2 separate regions of the Homo sapiens genome follow, and region 2 is linked to region 1. Evidence: promoter capture Hi-C in 16 types of primary human blood cells and fetal thymus (Javierre and others, 2016). All regions are on one chromosome and are shown on one strand. The core of a region is centred on a gene start or on the middle of the fragment in contact, and the rest is flanking DNA. Distances in the headings are between cores, read along the strand shown. Region 1 holds the start of BUD13 (BUD13 spliceosome associated protein). Region 2 overlaps RPUSD4 (RNA pseudouridine synthase D4).

Evidence for each region. The method cuts DNA at HindIII sites, captures the fragments that hold promoters and counts their contacts. A CHiCAGO score of 5 or more calls a contact.
Region 2: a contact is called between a fragment that was not itself captured here and the fragment with the promoter of BUD13 in region 1, in 1 of 17 cell types (naive CD8 T cells). The highest score is 5.4, in naive CD8 T cells.

The regions. Positions count from the first base shown.
Region 1 is chr11:116,770,035-116,774,349 of GRCh38, forward strand. BUD13 (BUD13 spliceosome associated protein) reads right to left here and starts at 2,953. Exons shown (of 10, transcript NM_032725.4): 1 at 2,788-2,953; 2 at 95-188. The coding sequence starts at 2,930. ZPR1 (ZPR1 zinc finger) reads right to left here. Exons shown (of 14, transcript NM_003904.5): 14 at 3,765-4,315. BUD13-DT (BUD13 divergent transcript) reads left to right here and starts at 3,437. Exons shown (of 2, transcript NR_186226.1): 1 at 3,437-3,477; 2 at 3,876-4,171. RefSeq lists a silencer at 3,092-3,291 and an enhancer at 3,412-3,501. The HindIII fragment of the contact is 6,866 bases long and covers 51-4,315 here.
Region 2 is chr11:126,205,333-126,208,990 of GRCh38, forward strand. It overlaps RPUSD4 (RNA pseudouridine synthase D4), which reads right to left. Exons shown (of 7, transcript NM_032795.3): 4 at 356-449; 5 at 136-280. Among named protein-coding and RNA genes, the nearest start is that of RPUSD4, 4.5 kb to the right of the region's middle. The HindIII fragment of the contact is 1,248 bases long and covers 627-1,874 here.

The DNA of each region.
Region 1 (4,315 bases), core at 1,703-4,202:
TGACAGAGCGAGACTCCGTCTCAAAAAAAAAAAAAAAAAGGAAATTGAGAAGCTTGCTTCATTTCAAAATCCTGACAGCCCCAAAGATACATACCACAGGCAAATCTCCATCATCTTCCTCTTCCTCCTTTTCTAGTTTGGTTGTGGAGATAGCTGTCCAGCTCACATCATCATCCACAATCCGCATTCTAAATGAGAATAAGAAGATCAAAAAGAGTCATTCTAGGATACCAGCATAAAAACATTTATCTATTGGTTTTAAAATAAAGTTCAAAATCCTACAGGATCCTGCATGGTCCAGTCTTTGTCTACAAGGTCAACTTCATCTCCTACTGCTACTTCCTTGGTTGAACACCTCCCTGGTCATCCTTTGGTGCTTAGAAAGGAGCCAAGTTCCTATCACATCAGTTTTCACATATGCAGTTCCTTCCCTCTGCCTGATCTACTCTTTTCAATCTTTTTCTTTTTTTTTTTTTTTGAGACGGAGTCTCGCTCTGTTGCCCAGGCTGGAGTGCAGTGGCACGATCTCAGCTCACTGCAAGCTCTGCCTCCCGGGTTCACACCATTCTCCTGCCTCAGCCTCCTGAGTAGCTGGGACTACAGGCGACCACTGCCACGCCTGGCTAATTTTTTGTATTTTTAGTAGAGACGGGGTTTCACCGTGTTAGTCAGGATGGTCTCGATCTCCTGACCTCGTGATCCGCCCGCCTTGGCCTCCCAAAGTGCTGGGATTATAGGCGTGAGCCACCGCGCCCGGCCCTAGTCTTTTTCTTTTTTGAGACAGGGTCTCACACTGCTGCCCAGGCTGGAGTGCAGGGACACCATCATGGCTCCCTGCAGCCTTGACTTCCCGGGGTTAAGTTATTCTCCCTACTCAGTCTCCCAAGTAGCTGGGACTACAGGCATGTGCCACTGTGCCTGACTACTTTTTTGTATTTTTTGTAGAAACAGGGTTTCACCATGTTGCCCAGACTGGTCTCAAACTCCTAGATGCAAGCAATCCACCCGCCTTGGCCTCCCAAAGTGCTAGGAAACTCTTTCTCATTCCAGGAAACTCTTCCTCATTCTTCAGGTCCTAACACAAATTTAACTTCCTTTGGCAAACTTTTCTTGACTGCTTCACCCAATTCCCTCACCATCCCACACTCACTCAAGACTAAGAACCCTTGTTAAAAACTCTTGGAATACTTTCATTGCATTTATCATAAAGAAAATATATCGATTAGTTGTGTAATTAGTTGCTTAAAGCCTGTATTCCCATTAATCTATAAGCTCCACAAGAACAGGGACTATGTTTTTTTTGTTCACAGAGGCATCCTCAACACCCTACAGTAACTGGAATACGAAATATTCAATAAATGTTTGTTACGTGGATAAACTATATAGCTGAGCCCAAATAATAACAATGACTGCCATGATGTGAAGTTATTCAAAAAGCCAGGGTCACTTAATGCAATCCCTCTAATCACAACCACCACTTAATAAAACCATTATTATTATTATTCTCATTTTAAAGATAAGGAAACTGCAGCTCAGTGAGATGAAACACCTTGCCCAAGGGTACACAGCCTATAAAGTGGCACAGCTAGGATTCGAACTCTGACCAGTGCTGCTCCAACACTCAAGCTACTTTCATCACATGGCACTGCCTCCAAAGGATCCACACAAGTCAGCGAGGCAGAAAGACGAAGACAATAATAAGGCAAGCACCAAACCAGAAAAGAACTTGGACTAGTTCTTTAGAACAATGTGACTTCACTGGGTATCTCAGTGCCTTAGGGTTACTGTAACAAAGTACCACAAATTGCGTGGCATAAAACAACAGAAACTCTCTCGCAGTTCTGGAAGCTAGCAATCTGAAATCCAGGTGTCTGCAAGGCCATCCTCCCTGGAAAGTCTCTAGCAGAGAATCTTTCCTTGCCTCTCCCAGCTTCTGGTAGCCCCAAGCATACCTTGGCTTTTGGCAACATAAATCCAATCCAATCTCAGCCTTCATCTAGACATGGTCGTTTTTCCTTTGTTGCTGTGTCTGTATCCATACTTCCCTCTTTTTAAAAGGCAAACAGTCATCTTGGATTTGGCACCCACCTTAATCAAGTATGACCTCATCTTAACTGATTACATCTCCAAAGACCCTATTTCTAAATGTCACATTCTGTGGTTCTGGGTGGAAAACGATTTGGTAGGGCCCACTACACTGGGCCACAAAGTTGTCCCATATGAAAATAATACCCACTTCATGGTAGTGTGGTGAGGCTTAAATAAACTTATATATGTTTAAATTTCTTATAATGGTGCCTGGCAAGAAAAGTATAACTATATAAATGTTAGCTTCTCACGTTAGGACTATTACTAAGAGTAACAGGAGGTGATCAAAGGTCTCTGATTCAGAACCAAGTCCTTGGGATCTGGGAATCCCCACAGGCAGGTACCGGGCCCTAAAGATCCAAGCACAGAGGCTTTGAATCCGCTCCATTATTCTCGAGGCACAATATTCATTCTCTATGGGAGAGGACGGAAGTCTACCAAGGCGGGAAAAGAGTAATCAAAGTTACACCCCGGCTTTAACGCACTGACGCTACTGCTCAGAGGCTCGAGATGTAAGCGGGGCGGCAGAGGCAAGGCGGGGGGCCTCAAGCGATGTGAGTGGGGCCCTGAGCATGAGCAGGGGTCGGCGGAGAAGCCGAGAGACCCGCCAAGAGGGAAGGAACTGCCGGGCGGCCGAGGGCGGAGTTGGGAAGGGGTGGCTAGACGTCGCAGGCCCCGCCCCGGCCGGTACCAACTCACCCCTTGCCGCCGGCCCCGCCAGGCTTCGGCCGCTTTTTGCGACGCTTGCGACCGGACTCAGATCCCCGGTCGACGCCGGCATCTGCCCCGGACAAGTAACGCTTCAGATACTCGGCCTTGGAAAGCGGCGGAGCTGCCGCCATGGCAGCGGCGGGGGCAGAGAGACGGGTCGGCGCTGGGGACAAAATGCCTCAACGCGTAACGGACGCCAGCCACCCGACAGGGCGGGGCCACGGCCGGAAGTGGCGGAGAGTGCTAAGAATCGCGCGGCTGGCAGGTGCGGCCACCGGGACGCGCTCGCAGGCTAGCCAGGGACGTGCGCACCTTCGGGGCGCTCCACAGCCCTGGGACGACGCCACCAGGTTTCTTCTCTTCATTCACTCACCCACCCACCCACCCATCCATCCAACCGCAGCAAGCGCTGTTCTATGAGGCCACAACCTGACCCAAAGGACCCCGCCCCCATCGGCCGCCTAAACTCCAGAGCACGAGCAAGAAAGTGGAGGGCCACGGGCTGCAGCGTAGCCGAGTTTGAATACTGGTTCCATAGCTGGCTAGCTGTACGACCTCGGGCAAGTTATCACAAAACAGGGAGAATCCCGGCACCTAACTCGGAACGGTCACAGGCTGAGATGATATTACTGTGTGAAGTGCGCAGAGCGGTGTTGGGCACATGGTCATCGGAACTATGTTCGTTATTTTTATAAGTATCTTTAAGTGGGGGGAATCTGCTCCACTAGGCTTCCAGGTACCTACCGTCCAAGAAAGGAAGCCAGGAAGTGCAAACCAACATAATTACTATGAAAAACGTAGTTTCTAAGACCTGTGTAACTCTTCTAGTGTTCTATTACAAGTAGCCCCCAGTTATCTCTTGAAGGAAACTGTAAAACAATCTTGCCAATGAGAAGGACGGACCTGGATCATTTTTTAGCATAGTAAAAGAGAGAAACCAGAGAGAATGAATTCTAACACTCAAGTTTTGGGGGGAAAGAAAAGACTTTATTCTTTGCAGGGGGTTTAGAGCTTTACCTGAATTATCTCATTTAACCCTCACAATTCTCAAATCGTTTCATTATCATATTTTACAGATAAGAACTGAAGCGTGGCAAGATTAAGGAAGTTGCTCAACTTCACATAGTCAGAACATGACTCTAGGGAGTAGAGGCTAGCGAAGTGGGGTGCAAGAGGTCATCCAAATTTCTTGAAATACCAGATCTTTTTACCTCATCATATATGTTAGATTGTCAGTTTTATCGTTTTCTTCCCAGCTTTATTATTTGACAAAAAATTATATATATTCAAGGTGTACAATGTGATGACTGGATATAATTATACATTGTGTAATGATTACCAAAATCAAATTAAGTAAAACATCCTTCACTAATTTATGTAGTAGTTCGGTGGGGGGGCACTTAAGCAAATTTGTCTTAGCAAACTTCAAGTAAACAATACAGAATTATTAGCTATAGTCAACATGTTGTACATTAGATTCCCAGAACTTGTCTTAAAACTGAAAACTTGTACCATT
Region 2 (3,658 bases), core at 1-2,500, 9.4 Mb after region 1:
CCCGGCCTCAGATCAGCACCAGAAGCACATTCTCACACAAGTCAGCCACACTACTAGCTGCTCAGAACGAGGCCCTGGACAAAACCTGGTGGCACAGGGTTTTGTGATCCCACTGCGGAAAAGTGACACTCTCACCAGTGATGGGCTGGAGCTCCACGAGGGCGGAGGAGAGAGTGCTGCTGAGCACCTGGTACTGAGTTACAGCAACTTGCGCATTCCGGCTGCGCCGCACTTTCACCATTTTCCCATCGTCCATGCGGTAGCTCGGGGACAATGTCATCTGAAGCCAAAGAAATCAAGATATGATTCCCAAGGAAGAGCAGCAACCCATGCCTCAGGGAGGCTGCTCGCTCACCTTGTGGTGTTGCTGCTGGCCTTGCGCCTCCTTCTCCACAATGGGGATGTCCACGACTCCTGCTGAGGGCATGGGGACATGCACAGTGATGGCCCTGGGGGTGACACAGATCACTGCTTTAGCCAACCAAGCCAGAGAAGAACTCCTAGATTTGGCCACTTAGAGGATTTCACGCTGGACCTTCTGCACTAACATGTGATTTCTTATGATTGAAGGATCGTGCAAGATTCTCTTGGTGTAATGCTTAGCCTGAGAGCTGATAGATTTCACAAGCTTATCTTTTTTACTACTAAAGTCATACATGCTAATTGTAGAATATTTGGGGTAAAAAAAGAAAAAAATTACATTAATAACATGGTCTTTCCAGTCTTTAAAAATGGATATGTACAGTTAAAATAAAATTATGGTAATATAGTTTTGTATTTTTTTTCAAATAATAAAAGATTGTAGATTCTGACTGCATGGTAAATGAACAAATGAATAATTGGATGAATGAACCTAATAAAACATTCAGAGAACCGTTCCTGGCTCATTTGCCACATAGGTAAAACAGGAGGGAACTGTACCCGAAGAAGTCACAGGGGACAGGCGTGGTGGCTCACACATGTAATCCCAATACTTTGGGAGGCCAAGGCGGGTGGATCACTTCAGGTCAGGAGTTCAAGACCAGCCTGGCCAACATGGTGAAACCCCATCTCTACTAAAAATACAAAAAAAAAATCAGCCAGGCGTGGTGGCGCGTGCCTGTAATTCCAGCTACTTGGGAGGCTGAGGCATGAGAATCGCTTGAATCCAGGAGGTGGAGGTTGCAGTGGGCCAAGATTATGCCACTGCACTCCAGCCTGGGAGACACAGCAAGACTCCGTCTAAAAAAAGAAAGAAAGAAGTCATAGGTACCACAACCACAACTCAATAACTCATTCCAAATCACTTCTGTTGGTGTTCTCCCTCCCATGACCTCATGACCTCACAGACAGGTAGAAGACTGTTTAATCTGTCTGTAAATTTATGCCTCTTTCAGGTCAATGATGGAAAAGTCCATCTGGGTACCTGGTGGTCGGTTGTATAATCACTAACCACGGGGTCAAAATCCTACTCACACACACTATTTCACAACGCAGACACTCCACTTCAGTTTCAGCTACTATCTGGTACATTTTATCGTATTTTACAGATTTTGTAGATCTTCTGTGACAAGAATGTCCTTCCTAATGATATGACACTACAACTCAAGAATGTTCCATCAGCAAGACCCAACTGATTGATTTCAATTCCTCCATGAACCTGATACCGAGAATGGTTACCAATTTTGAACCTTAATGGACATTTTTCACAAATAACATAACATGTATTTTATAGTCTTAATATTTTGATTGCTTGAATAGAAAAATAAGTCTCTATTTTTTATTTTTTAACTTTTCCTATGAACTAGGTACTGTGTTAAACATTTCACAAGAATCAATCTTATTTAACTATCTCATAAATCCTACTGTTTCCATTTTTCAGATGAAGAAAACAAAGCTTATGGACATTTAATAACCTGCCCAAGGCCCCACAGCTGTTAAATGACACAGTTGAGAGTTGAACACACATCTTTTTGAGGTCTTAGCTACTGTCCTAAATTCCTCCATTCTCCATAATCTTATCATAGTTCTTAAATTTGATTGTATATCAAATTTTAAAATACAGATGCCAATCCCCACAACCACCACACTTACGAATGAGAACTTCTGTGGGTAAGTCTCAATCATACATATTTTTAAAGGGCTCCTCAGATTCACAAAGTATCTGCAAAATCTGTAATCTAAAAAGGACTAACATTCAAAATATAAAATGAATACTTACAAATCAAATAGAAAAGAATAAACAACCTGGGCCAGACACAGTGGCTCACGCCTGTGAGCTGTAAGCGCTGTAATCCTAGCACTTTGATGGACAGATCACTTTAGGTCAGGGGTTCAAGACCAGCCTGGCCAACAGGCTGAAACCCCATCTCTACTAAAAATACAAAAATTAGCTGGGCATGGTGGCATGTGCCTGTAATTCCAGCTAGCTGAAACATGAGAACCACTTGAACCAGGGAGGAGGTTGCAGTGAGCCAAGATTGTGCCACTGCCCTCCAGCCTGGGTGACACAGCAAGACTCCATCTCAAAAAAAAAAGGCCAGGCACGGTCTTAAATAAAAAAAAATAATAATAATAAACAACCCTGTAGAAAAATAGGCAAAAGAAATAATCAGTCTGTTCCCAAAAGGGAAACTCAAATAGCCAATAAACATGTAAAAAACATGTAAATTGATAGCCAATATCACTGTTATACAAGGAAATAGAAAATATCTTTTTTTTTTTTAACTTATCACAGTGGCAAACCCTTTAAAAATGCTTTGGCTGATAAGGGGAGGTGGGTACTCACCACTGCTGGTGGGAATGTAAACTGATAAAAAACCTTTGTGGAGAGCAATGTGAGTACTATTAAAATTTAAATATACAAACCATTCAGCCCAGCGATTCAATTTTTAGAAATTTATCTTAAAAATACATTCACATATTCTTTGCAATAGGCTCTAAAAAATGAGAAATTACCTAAATATCCATCCATACAGCGGTATTTCACAGAGCAATTAAAAAGGAGACAGCTCTAAACGTATGACACAAAATGCTCTAAGATATATGATCCAAGTGAAAACTGTAGGGTACAAAACTCTGTGTGAAATACACTAGCATACAGTAATATGCTTATATATGCTCGATAACTCTGGAAGTTTACAGAAGACACCAGTCACAGCGATTGACGCTGGGGAAGGCAACTGCACAGATGGGGAATAGAGGGTTTCTTTTTTGCTCACGCATCTTTTTTCTATGAAAAACACTGAGGTAAACCTCTATGTGCTAACACAGGATGATCCCCAAGACATAGAGGTGAGCAGAGGAAAAAAGTATAATGTAAATTGTACAATGTGATATATATATAGATATATATGTGTACATACATATGTACACATGCATATACTGCATACACCAGACACGCATATACTGCGTACACCAGACACGCATATTCTGCGTATGCCGGACACGCGTATACTGCGTACGCCGCACACGCGTATACTGTATACACTAGACATATATGTAAATGCGTTGAGTAAGAACCAGAGGAAAAAAAACCAAACTGATTACATGGGTTGTTACCTCAAGAGAAAACACTAGAATGGCAGAATGGGTGGATTCTCCAGGAGTTTTTCACATGATCTTTGTTGTTTGACTATTTTTAGCATGGGAATAAAATCATATATTACTTGTATAATTA